6 separate regions of the Homo sapiens genome follow, and all the other regions are linked to region 5. The links are contacts of gene promoters, found by promoter capture Hi-C in blood cells and fetal thymus (Javierre and others, 2016). All regions are on one chromosome and are shown on one strand. The core of a region is centred on a gene start or on the middle of the fragment in contact, and the rest is flanking DNA. Distances in the headings are between cores, read along the strand shown. Region 1 overlaps LOC124902964 (a long non-coding RNA gene). Region 2 overlaps ZFC3H1 (zinc finger C3H1-type containing). Region 3 overlaps TMEM19 (transmembrane protein 19). Region 4 overlaps ZFC3H1 (zinc finger C3H1-type containing). Region 5 holds the start of TBC1D15 (TBC1 domain family member 15). Region 6 has its middle 59 kb from the start of ZFC3H1.

Region 1 (4,607 bases), core at 2,096-4,595, 250 kb before region 5:
TAAGTCTAAATGCTGCTTTGTATAATTTGTTCAGCTAAGGGATAGATCGATCACACTATTTAAGTGAGCCCAGATCAAAAAAGCAGATTGAAATTTTCTTTAGAAAAGATTCTCCATGATTTGAATTGCATTCTCTTTAAACTCACCAATGTAATCATTTTGGGAGGAGGGAGAACCCACTTGCTTTCCAAATGGGTTTATTTAAACCCACAAACTCAAGAGGTTGTTGGGGGAATTAGGAAAATAAGGGTTTTCAATGACCTACATTGCTAGGTAGAGGCTGTGATCCATGGGATTTCATTCTAATGACCATGTGAAGATGTTTGAGTCCTCCTTTGCCTTTCCTCAGAAAGAATCCTTCTAAGGCACAAATCCCTTAGATGGATAATGTAAGGTATTGTTAACTCACTCATATTGAGATCATTTTTAGAGATACCAGGTTTTATGTATCAGCACTAGATGGTTCCACCCTCATGGGATAAAACTGCTTACAAGTATTTTGAAAGAAAAACTGACCAAAATTCTTAAATTGTTACTAAGGCAATCATGCACAGGTGACGTATGTCTTATCTGATTTGTTTTTAACTCCTTGGTGCCCAAAGCTCAGAAGGGAATTCCACTGCCAGCAATGAACATACCTGGAAAAGAAAGTAAGCAATCTGGGATTTTTTTTCTGGGTTAGTAAAGAATTTTTGCAATAAGTTTTATCAGTTGATTCAAACTGATGTGCATCTTAATGATCAAATGTGCACATTACATAAATTAAGTCCACTGATACAACTTCTTACACATGTATCTCTAGTAGCTCTGGCAAACCCAATATCTGACACCACTTTGGACTCAAGAGACTCAGTAACGTATTATCCTGTTTATTTAGCTTGGTTTTAGCTGTGTTCTCTCTGGATAACCCACTTGATGTTAGGAACATTACTTCTCTGCTTATTCCATATTAATACTGTGTTAGGTATTTTAAGAAGCAAGTTATTAAATAAGAAAAGTCAAAGTATTAATTCTTACCTTCTATTATCCTATATTAGCTTCAATACATCCAAACCAAATGGCTGTTAGGTAGATTTATTTTTATATAAGCATGTTTATTTTGATCAGATGTTTTAACTTGGATTTGAAAAAATACATTTATGAGATGTTTTATAAGATGTGTAAATATAGAACTGTATTTATTACTATAGTAAAGGTTCAGTAACATTAAGGACCATGATAATGATAATAAACCTTGTACAGTGGCATATTCTTTGATTTATATTGTGTTTCTCTGCCCATTTTCTTTAAATTCATTAACTGTATATATGTAAATATATAGTACTTGTAAATAGATTCCAAATTTGCTTTTCTATTGGGTAAAAAATAAATTTGTAATAAAATGTGTGACTATGAAACAAAATATTTTCAAGTCTATTTATTGAGCCCACAGGCAGATATATAGTCTCCTAAATGTTTTTAAGTTTTGGAGTATAAGTACCTTTGCTATTTAAGTATTTTTTTTTTTTTTTTTTTTGAGACGGAGTCTCGCTCTGTCGCCCAGGCTGGAGTGCAGTGGCGGGATCTCGGCTCACTGCAAGCTCCGCCTCCCGGGTTCACGCCATTCTCCTGCCTCAGCCTCCCAAGTAGCTGGGACTACAGGCGCCTGCCACTACGCCCGGCTAATTTTTTGTATTTTTAGTAGAGACGGGGTTTCACCGTTTTAGCCGGGATGGTCTCGATCTCCTGACCTCGTGATCCGCCCGCCTCGGCCTCCCAAAGTGCTGGGATTACAGGCGTGAGCCACCGCGCCCGGCCTGCTATTTAAGTATTAATATTTGTACTTAATACTCTAAATATATTGCACTTATCATAAAAAAAGCAATCTTTCACAAAACGAATCAAAATATCATTACCAACTCCTGAATTGTTTATGATTGATAAGCCATTTTGTCCTGACTTTTGTGAAGGTTATGATAGTTTGGATTTTATAAGCTAGAACTTTTATTGGTCTCAAACTTCTTTTGCAATATAAGAAAAATCCTCACAATTAGAAAGAAATATATGAATAACAAATCAACCTTAAATTATTTAACATGGACATGAGTTTAAACATGAGTTTAAAAACTCATGTACTTGTTAAATAATTCATTTGATGATTATGTCAAGGCCAAAACATGAGGACATGCAATTCCCAGGGCACAAAGAAACACACTGTTCCCCTTCGGTCCCCATCCCCCAAAACATGAGAAATGAAATTATTTTTCTAGACACCTGTGCCAGACCCTACCAGCTCCAGTGGTGATTCCTGCTCTCCTTGCATGGATTGCAAAATGAAACCATCAAGTACTAGTAGGAGGCACAGCATTATTGCTAAAATTAACACGTTTACAGAGCACCCACAGGGCACCTGGCACTGAGTTTTCCACCTACCCATCAGACTTAACCACATGCCCAAACCTAATTAACAGGCATCAAATGGGATCCTCTTTTGTGCAGTCCATGCTTGGCTTGGCTTATCTTCAGCTGAAACAAGAGCTCACTCCTCTTACTCTCCCACCTCTTAACCCAGGCAGCAGATATAAAAGTCGCCTCTAGAGGAATGCATCTCATTCTTTCTTTTCAATATACTTGCCCAAAGTCAGGAACAAGTCCTGGCAGCCCCTTTGTCTCCCGCTCAAGAAAACACAAGTCAGTAATGTAATTAAAAAAAAAAAAGACACTTAAATTCACTCCAACTTATTTCTTTAGATAAATCCACAGGCTTTATTATTTTATTGACAAAACACTAGTTATAATACACCTTACACAAAACACTGCCATCTGATAAATGTTCTCCACTCTAATATAGCATAATCAGAAAGAACTTGAATTACATCCACAAATAAATAAATCTACAGTGAGAAGGGGAAAGATGTACTGTTCAGACATTGAACAACAGTAAAGAACAAACCATGGAACAAATTTGTAAAAACCATAAACTGTGAACTAGCTTAAAGTAAGGCAGTAACAATTTTGTTTCCAAAAACAGGTTCATTCATTCAACAAGTATTCTGCACCATTATGTGCTGTATTCTATGCACTGCGGATAACAAAACAAGGTCTGGAATTCGCATTCCAGCGGAGGGGAGATAGACAGTAAACAAATATAAACATGGAAATATCCGATAGAAACATAAATGAAGGAAATGAAGCTATTTTAAATAGTCTATTGGGAATAATTAGTGTGGTGCTTTAGAAATGGAGCTCCGGAAAGGCCTCTCTGGAAAGCCACCTTTTAGGCTAAGACCTTATGCTCACAATGGAGCTACCTTTGCTTTTGAATTTAACCAGTTACATCAAAAAACTCATCATTTCTAGTCCCTCTCTTCATATGTCACCTATAACTATTTTCAGGGACATTTTAATAGAAAAATATATTAGGTGGCTGTTACTGCACATCATTTTTTTTCAACTGTTACAGAAGAGAAAATCATTCTTATATGAAATAAAAAACATCTACTCATTTAGTTTTGGCTAAAAATATAACAATAAAGCAGTAAAAGGAAATAAAATTAGCAACACCTTCTTCATTTAGAACCAGAAAAACTCTAACATATGAAAAAGTAACAATGTCCTGCTTCTTTTGTTAATCTTATCACATTTAGTTCAGAGGCCCATCTGATGAGAAAGAAGTCCTAGATAAATAGATGGGATTGCTGTGACCCTACTGGTTCCATTCATGCTCTTCAGTACTGGAGATTTGATTTTACAGTTCCACTATGCAGATAAAAGAGACTATCTTCCTATGGGCCACTAAACACTAACTATTTTCTCTCTCAGGCCACAGAGACCCTTAACTACAATTAGGTTATGGTCACTTTTCCTTGCAAGTGAAGTGGGGAGGGGCTGTGTAGCCATATCCCCATTTCGATGTCCTCCTTATGAACATTTCTAAAGATGTTGAACTCAGATTCTACACTGACTCGTTCATCTCATACACAAGTTCCTGAAGCCTATTGGGTAGGATGATAAAACTTCAGAAACGGGCAGAAAATGCATGTGATAGGCTGGAGAAGCATTATGGAATACAGGTTCATACTCATTGTGGACATGACTTTCCACTCTAGAGACAGTACTTTATGGGAATGTTGAAAACATGCTACTCCATGAGAATAGTGAATGAAACAGTGAGTGGAATAGGGAAATGATATCCTATCAAATAATAGTCTAAAAAATGGAGAATGTGTCACCTGGAGAAAAGCAGGCTAAAGGAAAATATTTAAAATATTTGAATAATTGAAATTTACTAAGTGCTTTCTTAAGTACGAGCCTATAGTAGGCCAAATAGTAAAATGATTAAGCTCAACTGCCAGACAGACCTGGGTTCAAATCCTACTTCTGTTACTATCTGTGTAATCCTTGGACAAGGTATTTAATTTTTTTCAGCCTCAAATTTCTCCTCAAAAAAATGGGCATCACACCACCAGCCTCATAGGATTGGAAATACTAATAACTCAGTGTATATAAAGTTACCATCACACTACCTGAAAAGCATTGAATAGTACGTATTTAATTAATGGATCCTGTGTTTCCCCCTCTTTTGACAGCCTTATGGAATGAGCAAAGCAGGCCTTGTCATTTTGCCA
Region 2 (4,479 bases), core at 1,919-4,418, 220 kb before region 5:
CACCTGTAATCCTAGCACTTTGGGAGGCCAAGGCAGGCGGATTGCCTGAGCTCAGGAGTTCGAGACCATCCTGGGTAACACGGTGAAACCTGTCATTACTAAAATATAAAAAAATTAGCCGGGCGTGGGGGTGTGCGCCTGTAATCCCAGCTACTCAGGAGGCTGAGGCAGGAGAATTGCTTGAACCTGGGAGACGGAGGTTGCAATGAGGTGAGATCGCACCACTGCACCCCAGCCTGGGAGACAGAGCAAGATTCCGTTCTCTTAAAATAAAATTAAAAAAAAAAAACAAAAACAAAAAACAAGTTCTAGGTTGAATAGATCACTTACTTAACAAAATTTGGGCTTTAAGATTCTATTTTCGCTCATCTGTATTTTCTACAAGAAATTTTTTGGGGAGATATTCAGCTTAGGTCTTTCTTCTCTTGTTCTTCCTAATACAAAATAATAGAGTATGTTGTGATAAAATATTTTCCTTTTGATGCTGTTTTACTTATGATCGGCAAACCATGCCTATTTTTGTAAACAGTTATACTGGAACACAGTCATAACCATTCACTTGCATTTCATCTATGGCTGGTTTCTCAATAAAGCAACATAGTAGAGTAGTGGTAATAGACTACATGGCCTGCTAACCTAAAATATTTACTTTCTGGCTCTTAAGAAAAAAGTTTGCTAACCCCATAAAGAGATGAGGAGGACAAAGGAAAGATAATTTTAAGAGCCTCCCCCCAAAAAATCATTATTCAAAATCTGCCATGACCTCTTACTGTTGGAATAGGAACTCTCAGGAAAGACAGCAAGCACAGCTCTATATGAGCTATTAAGAAATTAATGGTTGAGAAAAGAATCCTCTGAAACGTCTTACTCTATAACATTTCAGAGGCTAGAGCAGTTCTCTTCAGAATTAAAAAAAGAAAAAGGCGTATTATTTATAGTCACTTTGATGACCTATCAAATAAATGAAAATACATTTTGTAAAAAATCACTGAGATTGCCTTGGGATAATTAAGTGCTATAATATTAAGTACTAAAATTAACAACAATAACGATAAAGTAAAAGAATGAGTTACTATGGTGTTAGTATATGCCTTACTTTGTACAGTGTGTTTAATCCACAGAATGTTAAAGAATTTTCCATCTTGCCTCCATTTTTATTGTTCTATTTATTCTGTTTCAAGTATTCTGTTAAGTGGGTATTCAAGTACTAAAAAGTCAGTCTAAAATGTCATCATATAAGAAAAAAACTGTAATCTTTCTACTGAACTGTGCTCTCTCTCATTCCTCTACAAACTAAGAATTCTACAACTTACCGAAACAGATCCAAGTTATTATACTTCTCAAACCCCGGTTTAAAGAAGGATGCAATAAATTTCCGCAAAAATGGAAGAAGATTATCGCCTCGATTCTATTTTAAAAAGAGGGAGGGGGATATATATCAGGCTTACAATGTTTAATTAAAATGTCACGAGGGAGAAAAAAAGCCTTAAAAAAGTACTCATTAGATTAAGTTTCTTGAGTGGGTAAGGGGCGGAGGGGATAAGTTTGAGACATACTCAGAAAACTTTTATATTTTACTCTCTGAATTAAGTTCAACTAATGATTAAACAGCTTAACTTCTAGTATTACCACAGGCTCATATTTCATCCACCAATTATGTATTAGCCATCTAGCACCATGGTAGGCGTTGGGCTGCAAATATGAGTAAACATGTTCCTTGCCTTCAAGAAGTTTAGTATAGTATATATTAAAGCAGCTAGGAATAAAATTACAAAGCACTGTACTAAGTGCTATGGCAAAGAGAGAAGGAACACCTAACACTGCTTGCAAAGGGTAAAAGGACCAGGAAACACTTCCTGGTGAGGCCAATAGCAAAATTTGAAACATAAAAGCATCATATTTAAGAATTATGCATCATTTTTACCTGTAAGATGAAGAATTTGCACATATGATAAAAAACCTCTGCATTCTGAGGATTTTTTTCAAATGCAGTAAGCCACACTGCTCTGGCTTTGTCATGCTGATTTGTTTGCAAATATAATGCAACAAGAGCTTCCAGCAACTGGCAGTTAATAGGACATGATTCCAATAAAGATTTACAAAGCTCCATTGCAGCCTCATACCTTAACAAAAAAGAAAAAAAAAGGCTAAAGACATGAAAAGATCACTTTTTAATATAAGGTTAGCTGCTTGGCAATTAAGTTGTACCTCTCCAGGAGTTGGTGCAGAGCAATCATGTTTGTGTAAAGTGGAAGGCAGGCCTCTATTCTTTCCTCAACAGCAAGGCTCTCATCTGTGCAAGCTTTCACTGCATCTACCCAAAAACATCACAACAACATGAATCACGTCAATCATAAAAATGAAATATTTGACTGTGTTACTTCAACTCTGAGAGACCAATGGGAAAAGATGACCCCTCCCTTTGATTACCCATCCATCATCTTATTCACCTTTACTGAGCTGGCTTTTACTCAAAGGAAGTAATTCAAGTAATCTCCAAAATCCTAAAATTCAATTCCTTACCCTCAACTTTCCTGGTAAGAATAAAGCCATCCCATATGAGCTTTTGCATCTATCAGTGTTTTCATTTAAACAAGTATCTCTGCAATTATCCTAAATTCTTTAAAATCCATCTCAACAAAAAAAAAATTACAGAATAAATTATCTTTTCATCTTTCCCTGACCACTGCAAAGGAGGTCTTGCTCTGCTGCCCCACAGCCATTTGAATGTCTCTCCAAACTAGATCCTTTCCTTACTCCATCAAAACACACTTTTCCCCTTGTAAAGAGTTCTTTCTTGATCTTTTTGCCACTTATTAAACGGTACAATGTTTTACTTTGCCCAGCTGTGACCATTTCCTCCTTACCCAATGGTACCACAGCTTCCCAGATCTGTGGAGTTTAAAAGTGAATGCAATCACTTTGAAACTGTCTTCTTGAAGTTCATTCATAAGGACTCATATCTAACCAAACATAAAAGCTCACCTCTACCTTCATTTTATTTAACATTTGACAGTGTTCTTTCCCTTCTTTTTAATTTCTTCTTGCCTCTGCTTCCAATAGATTGTTTAAATTTCCTCTTAGTCCCATTTTAATGACTCTACTCTCCCTTTTACTCCTTACTGTTATGCTCTTAAATCTCATTTCCTCAGAAAAAATATCTCATAGCCTCAACTACTGCATAATTTACTTCAAAAGCACATTATAAAAACTGTAAAGCACCCTGTAACACAGTAACTTCTATGTGAATAACACTCAAATCCACTTATGTATTGATAATTGTCCAATTAAGGTCCACTTCCTTTTCTTTTTTTTTTTTTGAAATGGAGTCTTGCTCTGTTGCCCAGGCTGGAGTGCAGTGGCACGACCTCGGCTCACTGCAACCTCTGCCTCCTGGGTTCAGGCAATTATCCTGCCTCAGCCTCCCGAGTAGTTGGGATTACAGGCACACACCACCATGCCCGACTAGTTTTTGTATTTTTAGTAGAGACGGGGTTTCACCACGTTGGCCAGGCTGGTCTCAAACTCCTGACCTCAAGTGATCCACATGCCTCAGCAGATTATCAAGTGCTGGGATTACAGATGTGAGGCACCACGCACGGCCAAGGTCCACTTCCTTATTTCCTACCGCCAACAATCATTTCCACTTGAATGACCAATTACAATCACAAATACTACTCCTACCATCAAAATCAGTCTTCCCAACTTACCAGTTTTCTATTAATGACACTTTCCTTTTCCCAGTCTCAAAACCCTGAAATCTTTGTTTACTCCTCCTCCTCTTCCCTGACATTTAATCTTCAACCCCCCCGCCTCACCCCCATGTATTTCCATGTGATAACTTAAAATATCTCTAATATCCTCCTTACCAGAATACTTTTCTTGTACTTCAGTTACTGCCATCAGCTTCTGGTTGGTTTTCCTACCATTGGTATAATTTCTCTTCAAGCACATTCTCTTTCTTAAAGAACCTCTACTGCCATCCAGTCTACCACATTTTCAAGATTCTTGACAATCAAGTATCATTCTACTTATCAAGCTTAATCACTACTATTGTCCAGCACAGAATTCTCAGTCTGATAAGACCTATCCCTTTTCCCAATCTCACTTCAAATCCATTGCATAAATTCCCTTCTACCTGTTGCTTTTTGTTTATTTAACTCCCCTAACAGTAATGTCCTTTCTTTTCTCTCCTTCCTTCACAGGGTATTTAATAAGCACTTAATAATTTGCCAGACATCCTTACAGGCCCTTAGGAGTAAAATGATAAATAAGACAAGGGTCCACCCCATCTCTGATGAGACCCACTTTGTCATACTGATAGCCATGCTTCGACATCTAGCTCCAGGTCCCCATTCTTCTATGAAGACTTCCTTGATCATGCCAATCTATAATAATCTCTTCCCTTTGGGTTCATGGCCTGTATCAAATAATTCTATAAATCACAGATCCTAGTCTCTTTTTTTTTTCTTTTTTTTA
Region 3 (4,454 bases), core at 227-2,726, 130 kb before region 5:
AGGTCATTCTATTATTAGCTTTTCTCATTACTTGAGTTATCTGTTTCTCACATATATCTTTCCTGTTTCTAGCTGCTGTACACATAGGATGCTGCCTGCAGAAATAGCAGCCCCGCCCCAATTAGATAAAGGACTAGTATAGAGAAAAAGCATGTGAAATGATGTTTTAAACTTTGCCGCATACCTGTGATATGAACAGCTGCTGCCTGTTAGGCACAGTGGGTATACTAGGGCCCAATCATCTGATCTTCCTGAAGTTTTATGTAATGTTCCCAGTGCTATCACAATGAGAATGATCTATACTAGCCACCAGATCTCAGGTGAATTGTGGTGTGCTTTAAAAATGAAAACACAGCCGGACGAGGTGGCTTATGCCTGTAATCCTAACACTTTGGGAGGCCGAGGCGGGCAGATCACGAGGTCAGGAGTTCAAGACCAGCCCGGCCAACACAGTGAAACCCCATCTCTTAGCCGGGCATGGTGGCGCATGCCTGTAGTCCCAGCTATTCAGGAGGCTGAGGCGTGAGAATCACTTGAACCCAGGAGGCAGAGGTTTCAGTAAGCAGAGAGCGTGCCACCGCACTCCAGCCTGGGTGACAGAGCAAGACTCCATCTTGAAAAAAAAAGGAAAACACAATTATGTGGCTTAATTATTTAATCTCCTTTATGGAGTATCTGTTTTTATAACTCCAAGTGGTTCTTGATATTTTAAAAATACTTAAGCATTCAATATGTATTCATTGAATTAAGTTGTTTGACTCTAATCATTGTTTCTTTTAAGAATGACTGGAAGGTGATAATCAGCACCATATTCCTGGAGGAAAATACAAAATGAAAAACCAGTTTGGCTACCTGAATTTCTGAGAACTGGAATGTTTCCAGCATTTTTCAATCATGCAAAACAATATTAATGCTTTTGAAACTAATGAGCCAGGAAATTATTGAAGAAGTGAAGGAGTGGCAGGGCGAGGCTTGAAATTATTTTCTCTGACAAGACTTCACTCTCCATTTATCATAACTGCCCTCTTCAAAAAAAAAATTTTTTTTTGTAGATCTAATCGTGAATCTAGACAAGATTTATTTTTATTTATTTTTTATTTTTTTGAGACAGGGTCTTACCCTATTGCCCAGGCTGGAGTGCGGTGGCACAGTCATAGCTTACTGCAGCTTCAACTTCCTCAGCTCAAGTCATCCTCCCGCCTCAGCCCCCAAGTAGCTGGGACTACAGACTTGCACTACTACACCCGGCTACTTTTTTTTTTTATTTTAATTTTTTGCAGAGATGAATCCAGACTATGTCCTATGTTGTCCATAATGGGTTTGAACTCCTGAGCGCAAGTGATCTTCTCACCTCAGCCTTCCAAAGTGTGAGATTACAGGTGCAAGCCACCACACCCAGCCAAAAATTTATTTTATAAATATGGCAACTCTTTTTTTAAGTTTGGATTTTTAAATTTTTATTAATATTAAATAATACACTGACTATTCCTTTTTAAAAATTACAACATTAGGCCAGATGTGGTAGCTCATGTTTATGATCCCAGCACTTTGGGAAGCCAAGGTGGGAGAATCACCTAAGGCCAGGAGTTTGAGACCAGCCTGGGCAGCACAGCAAGACCCCGTCTCTACAAAAAATAAAAAATTAGCCAAATGTGGTGTGTACACCTGTAGTCCCAGCCACTCAGGAAGCTGAGGTGGGAGGATTGTTTGAGCATGGGAGTTGGAGGCTACAGGGAGCCATAATTGCGCCACTGCACTCCAACCTGGGTGACAGAAACTCTGTCTCAATTTAAAAAGTAATAATAAAAATAAATAAAAATTACAACATTAGACATAAAGCTAAAATTTTTTTATTTTTTTTAGAAGGAATCTCGCTCTGTGGCCAGGCTGGAGTGCAGTGGTACAACCTCGGCTCACTGCAGCTTCCGCCTCCTGGGTTCAAGTGATTCCCCTGCCTCAGCTTCCTGAGTAGCTGGGACTACAGGCGTGCACCACCACGCCCAGTATTCTTTTGCCCCCACTATCTCCTCAGCAACTCTGAGCTCCTCCTATCTTCCCCAAGCTAATTACTGATATAAATTTGGGATATGGGCCAGGCACAGTGGCTTATGCCTATAATCCCAGCACTTTAGGTGGTTGAAGCAGGAGGATTGCATGAGGCCAGTAGTTTGAGACCAGCCTGGTCAACATAGTAAGACCCCCATCACTACAAAAAAATTTAAAATTAACCAGGTGTAGTGGTGTGTGCTTGTAGTCCCAGCTACCCAGGAGGCTAAGGCAAGAGGATTGCTTAAGCCCAGGAGTTCAAGGCAGCAGTGAACTATGATTGTACCCCTGTACTCCAATCTGGGCAGCAGAGTGAGACCCTATCTTTAAAAAATAAAAATAAATAAATTTGCAATATTTTGTACATAATTTGTTTAAGTGTGTTTTAACACATTTTAAACTCAATGAAATTGTTATAATTAGTATTGTCTTTTTGCTGCTTCAAGTCAGGTGCTTACATCCTAGAAAAATCTAGGAAGAAGGCCGGGCACGGTGGCTCATGCCTGTAATCCTAGCACTTTGGAAGTCCGGGGCAGGCAGATCACTTGAGGTCAAGAGTTCGAGACCAGTCTGGCCAACATGGTGAAACCCTTCTCTACTAAAAAATACAAAAATTAGCCGGGTGTAGTGGTACATGCCTGTAGTCCCAGCTACTCAGTTGGCTGGCTGAGGCACGAGAATCACTTGAACCCAGGAGGCAAAGGTTGCAGTGAGTTGAGATTGCACCACTGTACTCCAGTCTGGGCAACAGAGTAAGACTCCATCTCAGAAATAAAATAAAATAAAAATCTAGGAAGAAAGATTAGAAGGATGTACACCAAAATATTCTTGTTATCTGAGATAATTACAGATGTATTTAATGCTATTAAAAATACACATACAAAACTAATTTTAGGTTTTTTCTAAAGTCTGTAATCAAATTTGTTTTTTCTATGAATCAAAAACATGCTCAAAGTAAACAAAATAATCTCTGGGAATCACCCTTCTTTCCCTTCCACCCCCTCCTCATTATTTCAAATCTTATTTCTTCTCTTTATAAACTACTTTATTAACAATGAACTGAAAGAGTAAAATGGAATTTTAGTATAACATAAAAGTAACAGTGGATACTCAAGGGAATTTTTTGATACCTTTAAGACGGGATATTTCCCTTGACCTCTTCACAGGACTTGTGAAGGGGTAGCTCATTTACTCAGCCCAAAGCTCTGAACCCCTCAAGAAGCGGAAGCACACAGGTGAGCAGGTGCAGGAGCCGGGGCGAACAAATGCTGGAACCATCTGGTCACTCCTCTCTGGTAGGATCAAGCTTTGAGCAGGCCTCGCGGCAGAGTCCAAGCATGTTACAATGCTCTTTTAGCTCTGCCTTCCGGGAGGGGGTGTCTGTGACCCCCAGAGCCCCAGAGGGCATGTGTTACAATCAGTGCTCTTTTAGCGTTTGCTGTTCGCAGATGGCTAAGTGTTCACCACCTCAGTGGAGGGTGAGGGTCACAGCCTTTTATACTCTTCCCTCTTGGTACTCAAGTTCTTGTCTGTCATCCAGGAAGAATCAGGTCACAAGAACCAGTTGAAGGGTGGTGTATGCGGATAATTTTATTGAGAGATGGAAGTGGCTCTCAGTGGGAAGGGGAGCTGGAGAGGGATGGAGTGAGCAGATAATCTTCCCCTGGAGTTTGGCCATGCCTGGCCAAACTCTTCTCTGAAGTCCTGCCATCAAGCCATCCCTCTGAAGTCAAGCTGCTTTTCTCCAGCTGCTTCTCTTCTCTCCTCCTCTGCCGCTCCGCTCTGCTCTCCTGCCAGTGGAGCTTGGGGGTTTTATGGGTACAGGGTAGGGGGTGGGACAGGCCAGGGTGGTTTTGGAAAAGGCAACATTTGGGTGGGAAAACAGGGATGTGAAGTTCTCATTTAAGGCCTCTGGTCCAAGCTTGAGGGTGGAGCCCTCACCAGGGACCACACCCTTTTCTACCTAGTATTTCCCTGCTTCCTGTTTGTATCACCTTCACTTTCAGATTCTTGTAGGAATTAATGTAAGTATCACATATCTTCTTGCCCATGTAGCGAATCTGGTATGAGACTGGGGTTTTGGCAAATTTTTCAAATTCTTCTGATCTTGTTTAGCTATTTGCATTTGGAATAATACGTGGCAAACACCTTATTGCATGACAAGATTCTCAACACATTGTCATAGAATTCTAGAATAAAGAACCTTGAGGAACCTTTTTACCTCATTGCCCAGACTTGAAGCTAAAAAATACATATACTATCTCATATGGGTGAGTATAATCTTATCCAACTCTTGAATGCTTCCTTTCCTTTATATACCCATCCATTATGGCTGGAATTCTTTTCTACTCCCTTACTGATCCTTAAAAAACCAGCTCAATAACACTTCCTCTGAGAAGCTTTTCCAG
Region 4 (4,003 bases), core at 1,482-3,981, 190 kb before region 5:
TGTCAACTTGATTCATAGGGTTATTGTGAGGGTATTAAAAAATGTGTATGTGTACGTTATATTATCATTTCTAAATTCAGGGCCATCTTTTTCCTAAAGCTCCTAGACTATTTAAATCATTTCAATTTATGCAAAAAAACAAACTGAAATCTCAAAAGAAAAAAACTACAGATATTTCAGATCTCTAATTCAACAAATTGAAAAGGCTTGGGTTATTGAGTGCCTGTTATACGTCAAACACAGTGCTTGAGGCTTCTGTGTTTCATTCTACTGAAACCTCACAACAACCCAGATAACAGAAGACATTAAGTTCAGTTTGTAGAAAAGAATATAGAAGCAAGCAAAGGCTAAATAGTTTATACAAAGTCACTCAGTTAACAAGAAGTGGAGGTAGAATTTGACACCAGGTGAAGGTCTACCTTACTCCAAAAGCTTACCCACACAGGATAACACACAAAAAATGGAGAAAATATCTGGATCAAAATTAAAGGTTTCAAAAAACAAATGATTAAAAAAAAGATCCCGTATGAATATATATAACACTTTAATTAAACATAATTTGCAGAACCCAGGGAAAAGAGACTGCAAGATGTCGATCCAGAATTTCTTTAAGGCTTATGTCCAAATGGAGTTATAGGAATGATGAAAGAAAATAAGTGAAAGTAAGATAGACTTCCCTTACAAAAGAACAAAATAAAGCAATGCAAAAATGGGTCTTACAGAGATGATAGTCTCACAAAGCAGTATCTTACCTTTTCAGACAGAATATCTGAGGTACTAATTCTTCTTGTTAAATTTTGTTCTTTATCTTGTAATCCTTTAAAATAAAATAATATCTTTTGAATAATCCAAAAGATAGCCACAATCTAAAATAAAATAATCCTATATAATATCTGGTAATTATTTTAAAAGAGATCATTAAAGGGTCTCATTTTCTCAATCTCTCAACCAAAAGGAAATACCATTAAAGAGAATGAAAATCTGAACAAACTCTTATCAGCCTCATTCCTCAAAGTTATAAGGCAAAATGATTCAAAATATTAAAATAAAGCCACACTTTTAATAAAATGACTTCTGAACTAGAAATAGTCACTTCAAATGAGAAGAGAATTTATAAAGCATAGAAACAAGCAGCAACACTTAATTACCAAGTGGATTATCCACACTGATAGAATATAATGATGACTAAATTAATCCAGTCCTCTAAATTGGAATGAATGCAATGTTTACAGACTGTATTGGATTTGTGCATTAGAGAATTGGTCATTTACCTAGAAAAGCATCAGTAGAGGCAGCTTAAGTATCAATAAAATTAAGTCCATCCATACATTTTTTCCAGATATCTAGCCTTGGGCCCAGATGACTGATGAAATAATGTACAAAATCTTACATTTATATATTACCTAATCTACAACAGCTTTAAACATCACATGATAAAGTTACAGAATATCTACAATCCTGTTGAGATACTTTTGTAGCTAAAACAGATTATGTTAAAAACTCAGAAATCTTTCCTTAAGATGACAAAACTGAAATTGCAAAGCTAGGATTTAAACTAGATCTTAATTTTAAGTCTGGTGTTTTTACCATAACACCACACCTGTCAATGTTCCAAACATCCTAATTTGACTGCTCAAGTGAACCAAAGAATACGTGACTTATTCAATAAATAAATGACTAATCTAGCATCTAAATCAATGTAAATAGAAGGCAATGACCAAATTTCAAGACAAATGAGTTCTGTTGAAAGGCTTAGTCTATAAATGTGAATTTGTTGCAACATGACTGATACATTAGAAAATAATTCGAGCAGCCAGGCACAGTGGCTTATGCCTGCAATCCCAGTGCTTTGGGAGGCCGAGGCGGGTGGATCACCTGAGGTCAGGAGTTCAAGACCAGCCTGGGCAACATGGCAAAACTCTGTCTCTACTGAAAATACAAAAAATTAGCCAGGCATGGTGGTGCACGCCTGTAGTCCCAGCTACTCGGAAGGCTGAGGCAGGAGAATCGCTTGGACCCGGGAGGTGGAGGTTGCAGTGAGCTGAGATTGTACCACTGTACTCCATCCTGGGTAACAGAGCAAGACTCTTGTCTCAAAAAAAAAAAAAAAAAAAGAAAAGAAAAGAAAAGAATTTGAGCATAACACAAATTTATATTTACTTATGTGTGATTTGTCTCAGAGAAACACTAAGAATGCAGAAAACTGCACCCAAGTGATCTGAGCCATGTAGGAATACACAAACAACATATACTTCAAACATCTATCAAATACCCAAGTTCATTGCGTGTGTTATAAGCCACAGCCATCCACATCTGGTATTACAATTTACTGTCTGATTTCAGGTAACACTCCTTGTTTTACTTCATAATAACTCATAAGTAGCAAATATTCCACTTCCACAGGTGTACTTCAGGTCTATTTTATGGAATGCTGACATGTTTACTTTAATATTTCACACTTTTTTTCTCCATTTCACATGCAAAGCTGTGCTATCATTTTTCATTTATTCCTATCTTTTTTTTATATGCCACGGACAAAGTTTTTGAGTGTTGTTCCTCTAACCCCATTTTCTCCACACACCCTATTGTTTTTATTGCATAATTTTGCAGTGTGGTAATTTTGGGAAATGCATATGTCCCACTGTAGAAAAAATGATCACGCTTTTAAAAACAACAGAATAGTAATAACTATTATACAAAAATAAACAGGGAAACATTAAACACTAAATTATTCTCCTACATGAGAAACTTATGAGTTTCATTAAGTCATGAGAAATCTACTGGTTGATTAGGATCTCACTTGTCTATAAAAAATGGCAGCACCTCCCTTTAACGTAGCATAGAGGCAAGTATCTATTAACATAGCAGGTACCTTATGACTACATTGCTACCTTAAAAATAAATACAATAGGCTGGGTGTGGTGGCTCATGCCTGTAATCCCAGCACTTTGGGAGGCCAAGGCGGGTGGATCACGAGGTCAGGAGATCGAGACCATCCTGGCTAACATGGTGAAACCCTGTCTCTACCAAAAATACAAAAAATTAGCCAGGCGTGGTGGCAGGCACCTATAGTCCCAGCTACTCGGGAGGCCAAGGCAGAATAATGGTGTGAACCTGGGAGGTGGAGCCTGCCGTGAGCCGAGATCACGCCACTGCACTCCAGCCTGGGCAACACAGTGAGAGTCAGGAGAATGGTGTGAACCTGGGAGGTGGAGCTTGCAGTGAGCTGAGATCACACCACTGCACTCCAGCCTGGGCAACAGAGCGAGTCCGTCTCAAAAAAAAATTAATAAATACAATAAATTCAATAAATACAAATTTCAGACAATAAATATAACTTTACACAAAGATTATAAATGCAGGTTTAAACTGATCAAATGGGTAGCTAGACATTGTTCTACCACTGTCATAGGTCTGTACAATAAAATTATCTCAAGTTTTACTCAAAACCTCCAAAATGAACACTGTTCTTGTCACACAGTATTTAAAATATTACCAACTGAAAGTCTAATGTGAGCCAAAGTCACCAGCACACAGGTAGTAGTTAAAACCATAATAATGAGAATATCCCTAGAAAATGGGACACTGAGGACATGACGAATTAAGAAATTACACAGGAAAAGTAATTATTTAAAACAAACAAAAGACAGAAAACAAAAATCAGAAAGTTATTTTTAAAATCCATTGCAGAAATCCCAAAATTTCAAGGGAAGAAACATATCACTGAATATAGTAGAGATGTCTACCCCCAATAGAATATTCTCAGCAATGCAGCCAGAGTGATGCCTTAAAAATATAAAACAGATTATGTCAGTCCTTTGCTCAAAACCCTGTAAGAGCTCCCCATTTCATTAGGAATAAAAAAACAAAGTTCTTACAAGGCTCTGTCTATAAGATCTGCCCCCTCCTGCCATCTCTAATCCCTTCTCTCCCATTATTCATTCCCCTCACTCTCCTGTATTAGCACAGGACTCCTTGTTATTCCCCAAACATGTCAGGCATC
Region 5 (3,960 bases), core at 360-2,859:
GTCTCAGTCCAGTACATTTGGAAAAGGCCCTCTAGTCTTCACTCAATGCTGATTACTGCTAATATTCTCATTTTCCCACCTCATTCATCCCTTGTAGGTGAGCTGCTTTCTTGATTCCCTGCCAAGCTTGGGCATAAGGGTCTTGGTCATGGTTGGAATCTCAGATACCTAGCACGCAATCTCCCTAATATGCTACGCATTCATTCCCACCTAAGGTTCCACCACTTTCCTCACCTATTAGGTTCCTGGTAGTCACATAACCGGCAACTCTCCTTTTCTGTCGTTCAGCTAGTTGCCACCTACCTCAACCAAACTCAAAAGCCTCTAACCCCTCTCCACTGTGTGAAGACGGAAGTACCTCAATGGACACAAGTGTTTTTGGTGAAAGGGACTTTTTATTCTGCCCCGGAGCTAGGGAAATCCCAGATCTGTGCCAGAGTTATCAAGGGGGTAGTATATAATCATTCTCTGCATTCTTTTACAGCACTGAGAACAAGTAAAATTCTTACCTTAGTATCTTTACAAATCATTTTACCACACATGTATTGTCGTATGAAATCCCTACAACCACTCCATGCAGGAGTAATTCCCAGTTTACATCCTGAAGCTCTGATAAATTTAGAAACCTGCTTTAAGTCACAGAGCTAATAAGTAATGTGTAGGTGCTATAAACTATGTGCCTTGGGCTCTGCAGCTATGAGGGCGTGGTATTATCACAGTTCCTATCGAAATACCTTGCTGGAGGTCATGTGTGAGTGGCAGTGACCAGACAAATAGAGAAACCTCATATACAGAGGGGAAAAGTCTCCATGTATAGTGCCTGGGATATCTCCATGTTAGTGCTGCTCTTTCTTGGATCTTCACCGCAACGCCACTATCTTGATTTTACTATAAGAAACTGAGGTTTCGAGTGCACTGGTGATTTGCCTACTGCCACAAAACCAGGCTAATGGGCTGGGCGCGGTGGCTCAAGCCTGTAATCCCAGCTCTCTGGGCAAAGGCTGAAGCGGACGGATCACCTGAAGTCAGGAGTTCGAGACCAGCCTGGGCAACATTGGCGAAATCTCGTCTCTAATAAAAATTTAAAAATTAGCTGGGCGTTTGACGCGCGCCTGTAATCCCAGCTACCCGGGAGGCTGAGGCTTGAGAATCGCTTGAACCGAGTGGCGGAGGCTGCAATGAGCCGAGATCGCGCCACTGCACTCCAGCCTGAGCGACAGAGCGAGACTCCTTTTCTACAACAACAACAAAAAACCAGGACAAATCTTGCTGGCTTCCAGTATGGTATTCGTTTCATCTCACCAAACTGGCGTGGCCTGCGCTAGCTTCAGAGTCTCGACAAACTCCAATACAAGTAAGGTACACATTATTTTAGCAGTCTTCCTTGGGGAGGACGTGGGGCAAGCACAAGCGTAGCGTTAGGCCTGAGACTCCACCCCAGCCGTCTCTGAGCCCAGTTCAGCACGCACGCGTCAGGCGGCTTTTTTCCGCCCGGCTCCTTTCCTCCACTCCCTTCCCGCCACTCCCCGCCCTTTTCCCGCCCGGATGTTATTCTAGTTTTGCCGGATGTTGTTGTATGTCCGAGAGACACGTGAGGTTCTGCTACGTCATTACCAGGCACGCGCAGGAAACATGGCGGCGGCGGGTGTTGTGAGCGGGAAGGTAGGTAACGGCCTCCAGGAAGACCTCGGCTTTTCTCTGGGACGGGGATGCTTTTGCTCCCTGGCAGCTGGTTGGGGGAGGGACACGAGGGACTTTCTGTGTCCGGACAACCCGTGGCGTCTGTAGGAGAAGACTGGGTGGTACCAGCTGGTTTCCCGAGAATGCCAGTTCAGCCGCGGAGTTATAGAGCCGGCTACTGCTCCAAGGCCAGCTAGGCCTCGGCGCTCTTCTGCCCCAGAGCAGAGAGGCTTTTATTCGTATTACCTTTACTAAGGGACAGGTGGCTCTCTAGTTCCTTTTTTCCCCCGATTCACTGTTTCTTGACTCTAGTTCTTTATGTCTACTCTTCTGACTCCAGCGTCTTTTCTCTCTTTGAAGCGTTAACCCGACTTGCCTCTGTCTTCTTTGCTACAGTTTGGTGAAGATGTTTATGCTTCCTTCGGGAGGAGCTGAATAGATGCTAGGCAGCTAGCTGTGCGCTTAGAAGAAACGAGTGTATTGGGTCTGTTTTTACCAAGCTGCTGAGTTGGTTGGTGGTTGTGAGCAGCAGGACGTGTTTCCTGAGAGAAATGGAGATTTACACCATCCTGTGCTTGTCTAGGAAGGCGTCCAAATATTTATTTCCTAGGCATTTCAGTAGGAGTATTGGTCATGCTGGTTTACGGAGGTGGTCAGTGACACGCCTAATTTCGTTGGAAACTAGAATTACGTGCGGAGATTTCGTCGAATAGTGCCTATTCGCGTTCCGAGGGCACATCTTATGCATAGTTAGGGCTATCAGCTTTATGATATGCCACCGATAGTATTTCCCAGTGCAGGAGTATTTCATAAACAGCTGGAATCAACTGAAGTGACTCATCGAACACTAATGGTTGTTTACTCATTGCAGATAGCGTCCTCTGTTCCTTGAGTTTCACTCATGTCTCCCTGTTGCTTTCCCTACCCCATTTTGAATTATTTGACAGCGTTTGTGGTTTGGTGTTTGGAGTATTAGACTAGGCGGCTGAATGACAAATATGGGCTTGGTTTTGCTGTTAATCTGAAGTATGACCTTGGAAAATTGGGCAATTGTGACTTTTGTCTTTTCGCGTTCTTTATCTGTAGAATGGAGGAGATGCCAATCATTATTTCTTGTATTGGAGTTGTTAGGGTTATATAAATTTTTTTTTAAAAAAACATAAAATTACACACTTGTACCTACTGGCTCTTTTAAAGGATAGGTGGGCATCCTTTTTTGGATTATTCGTGCTCCTTGGTTGTCTTGTCAGTTTTTTTCTTTTTATATTCAGGGTGGATGCTGATATACTGCTTGACTTACTGCGTATTTGAAGATTATCCTGTTTGATTTTCCATCTAAACTGATCCAGGCTGGGACTTTTCAAGAGGGGATCCCTTCCGTTTAAACATCTCCCTCTTTCAGGTTTGGATTGATTTTGAAAGAATCCTTGAGGCAATGAAGCAGAGTTGTGAAATGAAAAACATTTTTCACTCTTTGCAGCCACTACCTTTCATAGTCTGACTTCTTAAAGTGAGACTTATATTTAGTAATTCTGCTTCATAACCTCATTTATTCTCATTCACTGCAAATTCACATCTATTGCCATCACTCCACTGAAACTAGTTTTCCATGCCAAAAGCTGCTCCTCTCCCAAGTAATACTATCATGACCAACAAAACCCACTTGTTCTTCTCTCAGTAAGTTCAGATCTGGTTTAATGGCATCATCTTTCACCTGGTTGCATGTTAAACATACTTGGAGGCATTCATTCCTATAACACTCTCTAATCAATAACCATGTCCTACCAGTTTTACCTTAAGAGGTTTCTTAAATTTACTGCATCTTCTTTACTATCAGCGCATAGTTCAGGCTTTTAGTCTGCTTCTATTCTTGATTTCTTGGCTGATTTTACTCCTTTTCTACAGTCTCTGCCCTTAATCTTCTCTACACCACCACTGGAGTTATTTTTCTAATGCGCAAACCTGATAATCTCTTGATTTAAAAAGCAAATGAAAACTCTTCACTTTTTTATCGTCAGCATAATAATAATAATAATGAAAGCTGGTTAATGTAACATAAAAAGACATGATACCTTTATGCTTCCCTACTTCCTAATCTTTTTTCTTTAGGAAAGGGGATGGGGAGAAAATGTGTGTGTGTGTTTATTTATTCATCTCCCCTCTCCCTTCAAGTTTTAGCTAAGAGTTCTAGTTTAGAAATCCAGGGGAGTGAATGTTAACCAAGGCTCACAAAAATCACTCGTGATACTTTTTAATAAAAGTACAGATGGTGGGCTACCA
Region 6 (4,191 bases), core at 585-3,084, 240 kb before region 5:
TGTTATTAAATGACCATTTATTAAGTTTCCAGACCAGCTAGGTCTGGGAAATGTGCTTTCAGCTTCCCTATTCCAAACTCAAGATTATAGAGTAGAATTAGAGAACTAGAAGAGATTTTAGAGGTTCACTATTTAAAACTTTTTTAGACCTCTAAACAAGCTAGGTTGAAGCCACTAACTTCACTTTATAGTCTGTTTACTCCACTTGATGGTAGTGTGGCAGATATTTAGTTGTTCCTCAGATACGTATTCCCTTTCATACTTGAATTTATGTAGTCCACATAGCTACTCGAAATAAAGACTACATTTCCCAGCCTCCCTGCAGTGGCCATGTGTCTATGTTCTGAACAATCGGACAAAAGCAAATGTGGCATGTTCAGCTTCTGAGTCCTCCTAAGAAGCGAGGCGGGTCATGCTTCCCTTCATTTTTCCTTCCTGCTAAATACAATGTGAACAAAAAAGCTTGGGTGTGGAGCAGCCATCTAGAATCATCAGGACCACCAGCCCACGTGGTGCTGTTGTGCAATTTAGAAAAACACCAACCCTCCCCATAGAACTTGGATTCTTAATGGTCCCTTTGTGTGAATTTTAAAAAGGCCACCCTTCCTCCATGCCGACTCAACGAGTGCCTTCGGGTGCTTGATGAGTTGATCATGGGATTAATTTCATCCCCTGCTATTTCAGTCTTTTGGCCATGTATCCTTGTACAGGACATGACTTAACACAACCATAGGTAGCACCCCTTTTGGGAAAGGAGGTCACACAGGACAAACAGATAGGTGTCTAGGTCTCTGTTACAGCGGAGTATCATACAGTCAGCCCTGGTCCACCCTACTTAAACTTTTAAGCCACTGCTATTTTCATCTGTCAATCCTAATATAGAAAGGGTCATTCACACTGAATTGCAAGCCTTGGATTTTACAACTGGCTATTTTGACTCACATCCTTTCCTCCCCACCCCCAAATTAGATATTACTTTTATTTAGAACAGCATTAATCACCAAGTGAACACTACCAATGGACCCCTTGTTCTGCATTCTGTGATTTTTCACCACTGGGCCACAGCTTCAGCCAAATTTGGTCTAACTGTGATAAAATTGTGGTTTAAAAAATCCAGCAATTCTTTTCTCTTAAAAGTATGTTCCTGGAGGATTATCTTATATGCAAACTCTATGCAAGTCCTCTTGCCTGGTTAGGTCATTTTATGACTGCTGCCTACAAAATAAGTAAACTTAATTGGTCAATATTCTCATGTCCTGTTATAGGCAACTCCAAAAAAGTGTGGAAAGTGGCTTGGATTATCAAGATACTCTCTACACTTAAATTCTGAGTACTGAACTAAGGGGTAGTTTTTATCCTCTATTTCACCACAAAGGGAATCCAGCCAACATGCTGAGAATCCTCAGAACTGAAAACAGAAGCAGACTAAATTTTGATTCCTTTTGACTTTAAAACCTAAAGACCATGTTTTTAAAGAGATGAGGTCTCTCCATATTGCCCAGGATGGTCTCAAACTCTTAAACTTGAGATCCTCCTAACTTGGCCTCCCAAAGTCCTAGGATTATAGGCATGAGCCACCACGCCTGTCTCAAGACCATCTCTTAACTGATATTTTTATCTGTTATTTTGGTAATGCCAGGAATGAGCCACTGAATTTAGACAGCAACTTTTTTTTTTTTTTTTTAATAATGACATGGTCTCGCTATGTTGCCCAGGCTGCTCTCAAGCAATCCTCCTGTCTTGGCCTCCCAAAGTGCAGGTATTACAGGCCTGAGCCACGGTACCTGGCCTAGACTACAATTTTCTGTTGTCTCTCTTACAAACAGCAACTAATTCATGCTTGAGCATTGGTAGAGTTATATGCTCTTCATCAAGTGACAGCAATGAAATTCTGTCCAGGGCTGGGCATAGTGCCTCACATCTGTAATCCCAATACTTTGGGAGGCCTACGCAGGTAGACTGCTTGAGGTCAGGAGTTCAAGACCAGCCTAGCCAATATAGTGAAACCCTGTCTCTACAAAAAAAAAAAAAAAAGCCAAGCACGATACTGTGTGCCTGTGATCCCAGCTACTCATGAGGCTGAGGTGGGAGGATCACTTGAGCCCAGGAGGTCGGGGCTGCAGTGAGCAATGACTGCACCATTGCACTCCAACCTGGGTAAGAGACCCTGTCTCAAAACAAAAAAACAAAAACAAAAAAAAAGAAAAGAAATTAGGTCCAGAGGAAGCAAACTATTATTTTGTAGCATCTCTGCTTTCAAAATTTTGGAACACGATTCCAAACTCAAAATACTTTTTTTTTTTTTTAAGGGTAATTCCTATTATTTGATCTCAACACCCCTGAGGTAAGTACACATATTTCCCCATTTTGATGCAGAAAAAGAGACGGGGGCAGTGAAATGGCCTGTCACAATTACATAGCTAGTTTATGGTAGAGCTGAATCTAATACCCAGATCTTTTAAATACACGCTTTTTCATCACTCACATTGGTTCACACTTCTCAATTTCCTGAAACTATTTCTTTGTAGCTCCATTTCAACCAGTATGAAATGCCAAATCTATCTCCTGGCAATCTCATAAATTTCACTGTATGATGTGCCAAGTTAAGTGTTTGTTTTGGCCTTGGCAGCAGATGCCCTGATTATGTCCACTAATGCAAACAGCTCACCAGTCTATCACTCTTCCTAATTGATTCAGCTCCTTTACACCGTTGGCTATCATTCTCTTTCATATGGCTTACTTTCGCTAGGTAAGAACTTTTCCAAGATTTAAGCTGCTTGATCAACCAAACATTATAAACCTACCTTTGATTTCAGCAGACTTGATAATCAGTCTTGAGGCTTTCAGATTCCCAAAAGGCAAATGTATATACTTTTTAAGAAAGGCTATGCAAATAGTTTTCATGTTTTATTTAAAATTTTACTTAATTCATAGAAGATGGCCCTTGAAAAGTCATATTTGTTTATAGATTGGATAGTCTTCAAAATTTATTAGTCTTGCATAAAATCGTCATGTTATTCTATGGTAATTGAAATACAATTAACTCACATATTCTTAACATTCTATTCACTGTTTTGTATTGTTTTGTTCTTAAACTGGAGGGAAAATTCAGATCCATGACAGCACCCACCACTTAAGAGTCATATTGGCTTCAGATATTCTGGAACCTCTGTATTCTTGATCAAACTAGGAAGCACACATTCCTCTAAGCTTAAAACTTTTTTGTTATTGTTGTTACTCAACAGAGTCATTTTATTCCTGGCTTTAATTAGCTTTACATTGGTTGCAAACATCTCTGGTATTGGGTCAAATAGAAAAATCACTTTAAAGCAGTGAAGACACTTTGGGCCATCTTTGTTTTTGAGACGGAGTCTCGCTCTGTCACCCAGGCTGGAGTGCAGTGGCACTATCTCAGCTCACTGCAAGGTCCCCCTCCCGGGTTCACGCCATTCTCCTGCCTCAGCCTCCTGAGCAGCTGGGACTAGAGGCGCCCACCACCACGCCCAGCTAATTTTTTGTATTTTTAGTAGAGATGGGGTTTCACCGTGTTAGCCAGGATGGTCTCGATCTCCTGACCTCATGATCCACCCGCCTCGGCCTCCCAAAGTGCTGGGATTACAGGTGTGAGCCACAGCCCCTGGCCCACTTTGGGCCATCTTTGGGTAGTTCTGTGTAAACAGAAAAATAACCATGACTCTTAAAATATAATGGATCAACACCATAGGAAAGGTTAAAAAAAATTAATGGAAAACCATGTAGACTGGAATTGAAATAGTGCTCTGCAAGTTGTAGATAATAAATGTTGAAAGTAACATTTTATTCATGCATTACCCAAGAAGTTAGAGAGAGAGAGGGAAAAAAGGAAAAGCTAGTAGCAGCAGCTGCAATTACAATCAGACTTTGGATATCAAGGCATTTAAACTGGGTCTTCTAATAGGATTACTCCTAGTCAGTCATGCTCATGTGGATTTTGAAGCACAGGGTGCCCCCAAAGGCACTCTCTTCTGAACAGTTAGGCTGCTCTGTAGTTTTACACATCTGTTACCATGTTTAATGAATTTTCAGTTGTGAATGAATTTGGAAAGTTAAAGCTTTTCAGAACGTTTTTTAAAAATGCACAGGATTCCAAATGTACAGATAGAAGTGACACAATTTTTGAAAATATTATTGAGCTCAACTTTTCCTCCATTT

The links. The method cuts DNA at HindIII sites, captures the fragments that hold promoters and counts their contacts. A CHiCAGO score of 5 or more calls a contact.
Region 1: a fragment that was not itself captured here is called in contact with the fragment with the promoter of TBC1D15 in region 5 in 1 of 17 cell types (activated CD4 T cells); the score reaches 5.0 in activated CD4 T cells.
Region 2: a fragment that was not itself captured here is called in contact with the fragment with the promoter of TBC1D15 in region 5 in 8 of 17 cell types (non-activated CD4 T cells, activated CD4 T cells, naive CD4 T cells and 5 more); the score reaches 9.7 in non-activated CD4 T cells.
Region 3: a contact is called between a fragment that was not itself captured here and the fragment with the promoter of TBC1D15 in region 5, in 1 of 17 cell types (neutrophils). The highest score is 5.7, in neutrophils.
Region 4: a fragment that was not itself captured here is called in contact with the fragment with the promoter of TBC1D15 in region 5 in 11 of 17 cell types (naive CD8 T cells, non-activated CD4 T cells, total CD4 T cells and 8 more); the score reaches 15.5 in naive CD8 T cells.
Region 6: a contact is called between a fragment that was not itself captured here and the fragment with the promoter of TBC1D15 in region 5, in 5 of 17 cell types (activated CD4 T cells, non-activated CD4 T cells, naive CD4 T cells and 2 more). The highest score is 11.7, in activated CD4 T cells.

Annotation. Positions count from the first base shown.
Region 1 is chr12:71,584,909-71,589,515 of GRCh38, forward strand. LOC124902964 (a long non-coding RNA gene) reads right to left here. Exons shown (of 2, transcript XR_007063366.1): 2 at 2,722-4,607. It overlaps LGR5 (leucine rich repeat containing G protein-coupled receptor 5), which reads left to right. Exons shown (of 18, transcript NM_003667.4): 18 at 1-1,402. Among named protein-coding and RNA genes, the nearest start is that of ZFC3H1, 77 kb to the right of the region's middle. The HindIII fragment of the contact is 7,405 bases long and covers 1-4,607 here.
Region 2 is chr12:71,618,002-71,622,480 of GRCh38, forward strand. It overlaps ZFC3H1 (zinc finger C3H1-type containing), which reads right to left. Exons shown (of 35, transcript NM_144982.5): 25 at 2,209-2,314; 26 at 1,925-2,123; 27 at 1,314-1,408. Among named protein-coding and RNA genes, the nearest start is that of ZFC3H1, 44 kb to the right of the region's middle. The HindIII fragment of the contact is 1,737 bases long and covers 2,301-4,037 here.
Region 3 is chr12:71,704,206-71,708,659 of GRCh38, forward strand. TMEM19 (transmembrane protein 19) reads left to right here. Exons shown (of 6, transcript NM_018279.4): 6 at 1-842. It overlaps LOC107984530 (a long non-coding RNA gene), which reads left to right and starts at 4,260. Exons shown (of 3, transcript XR_001749202.1): 1 at 4,260-4,316. RefSeq lists a silencer at 3,532-3,737. The HindIII fragment of the contact is 3,747 bases long and covers 1-3,350 here.
Region 4 is chr12:71,646,997-71,650,999 of GRCh38, forward strand. ZFC3H1 (zinc finger C3H1-type containing) reads right to left here. Exons shown (of 35, transcript NM_144982.5): 3 at 753-817. Among named protein-coding and RNA genes, the nearest start is that of ZFC3H1, 15 kb to the right of the region's middle. The HindIII fragment of the contact is 4,603 bases long and covers 431-4,003 here.
Region 5 is chr12:71,838,150-71,842,109 of GRCh38, forward strand. It overlaps TBC1D15 (TBC1 domain family member 15), which reads left to right and starts at 1,610. Exons shown (of 17, transcript NM_001146213.3): 1 at 1,610-1,662. The coding sequence starts at 1,633. The HindIII fragment of the contact is 6,842 bases long and covers 125-3,960 here.
Region 6 is chr12:71,602,615-71,606,805 of GRCh38, forward strand. No RefSeq gene overlaps it. Among named protein-coding and RNA genes, the nearest start is that of ZFC3H1, 59 kb to the right of the region's middle. The HindIII fragment of the contact is 2,748 bases long and covers 461-3,208 here.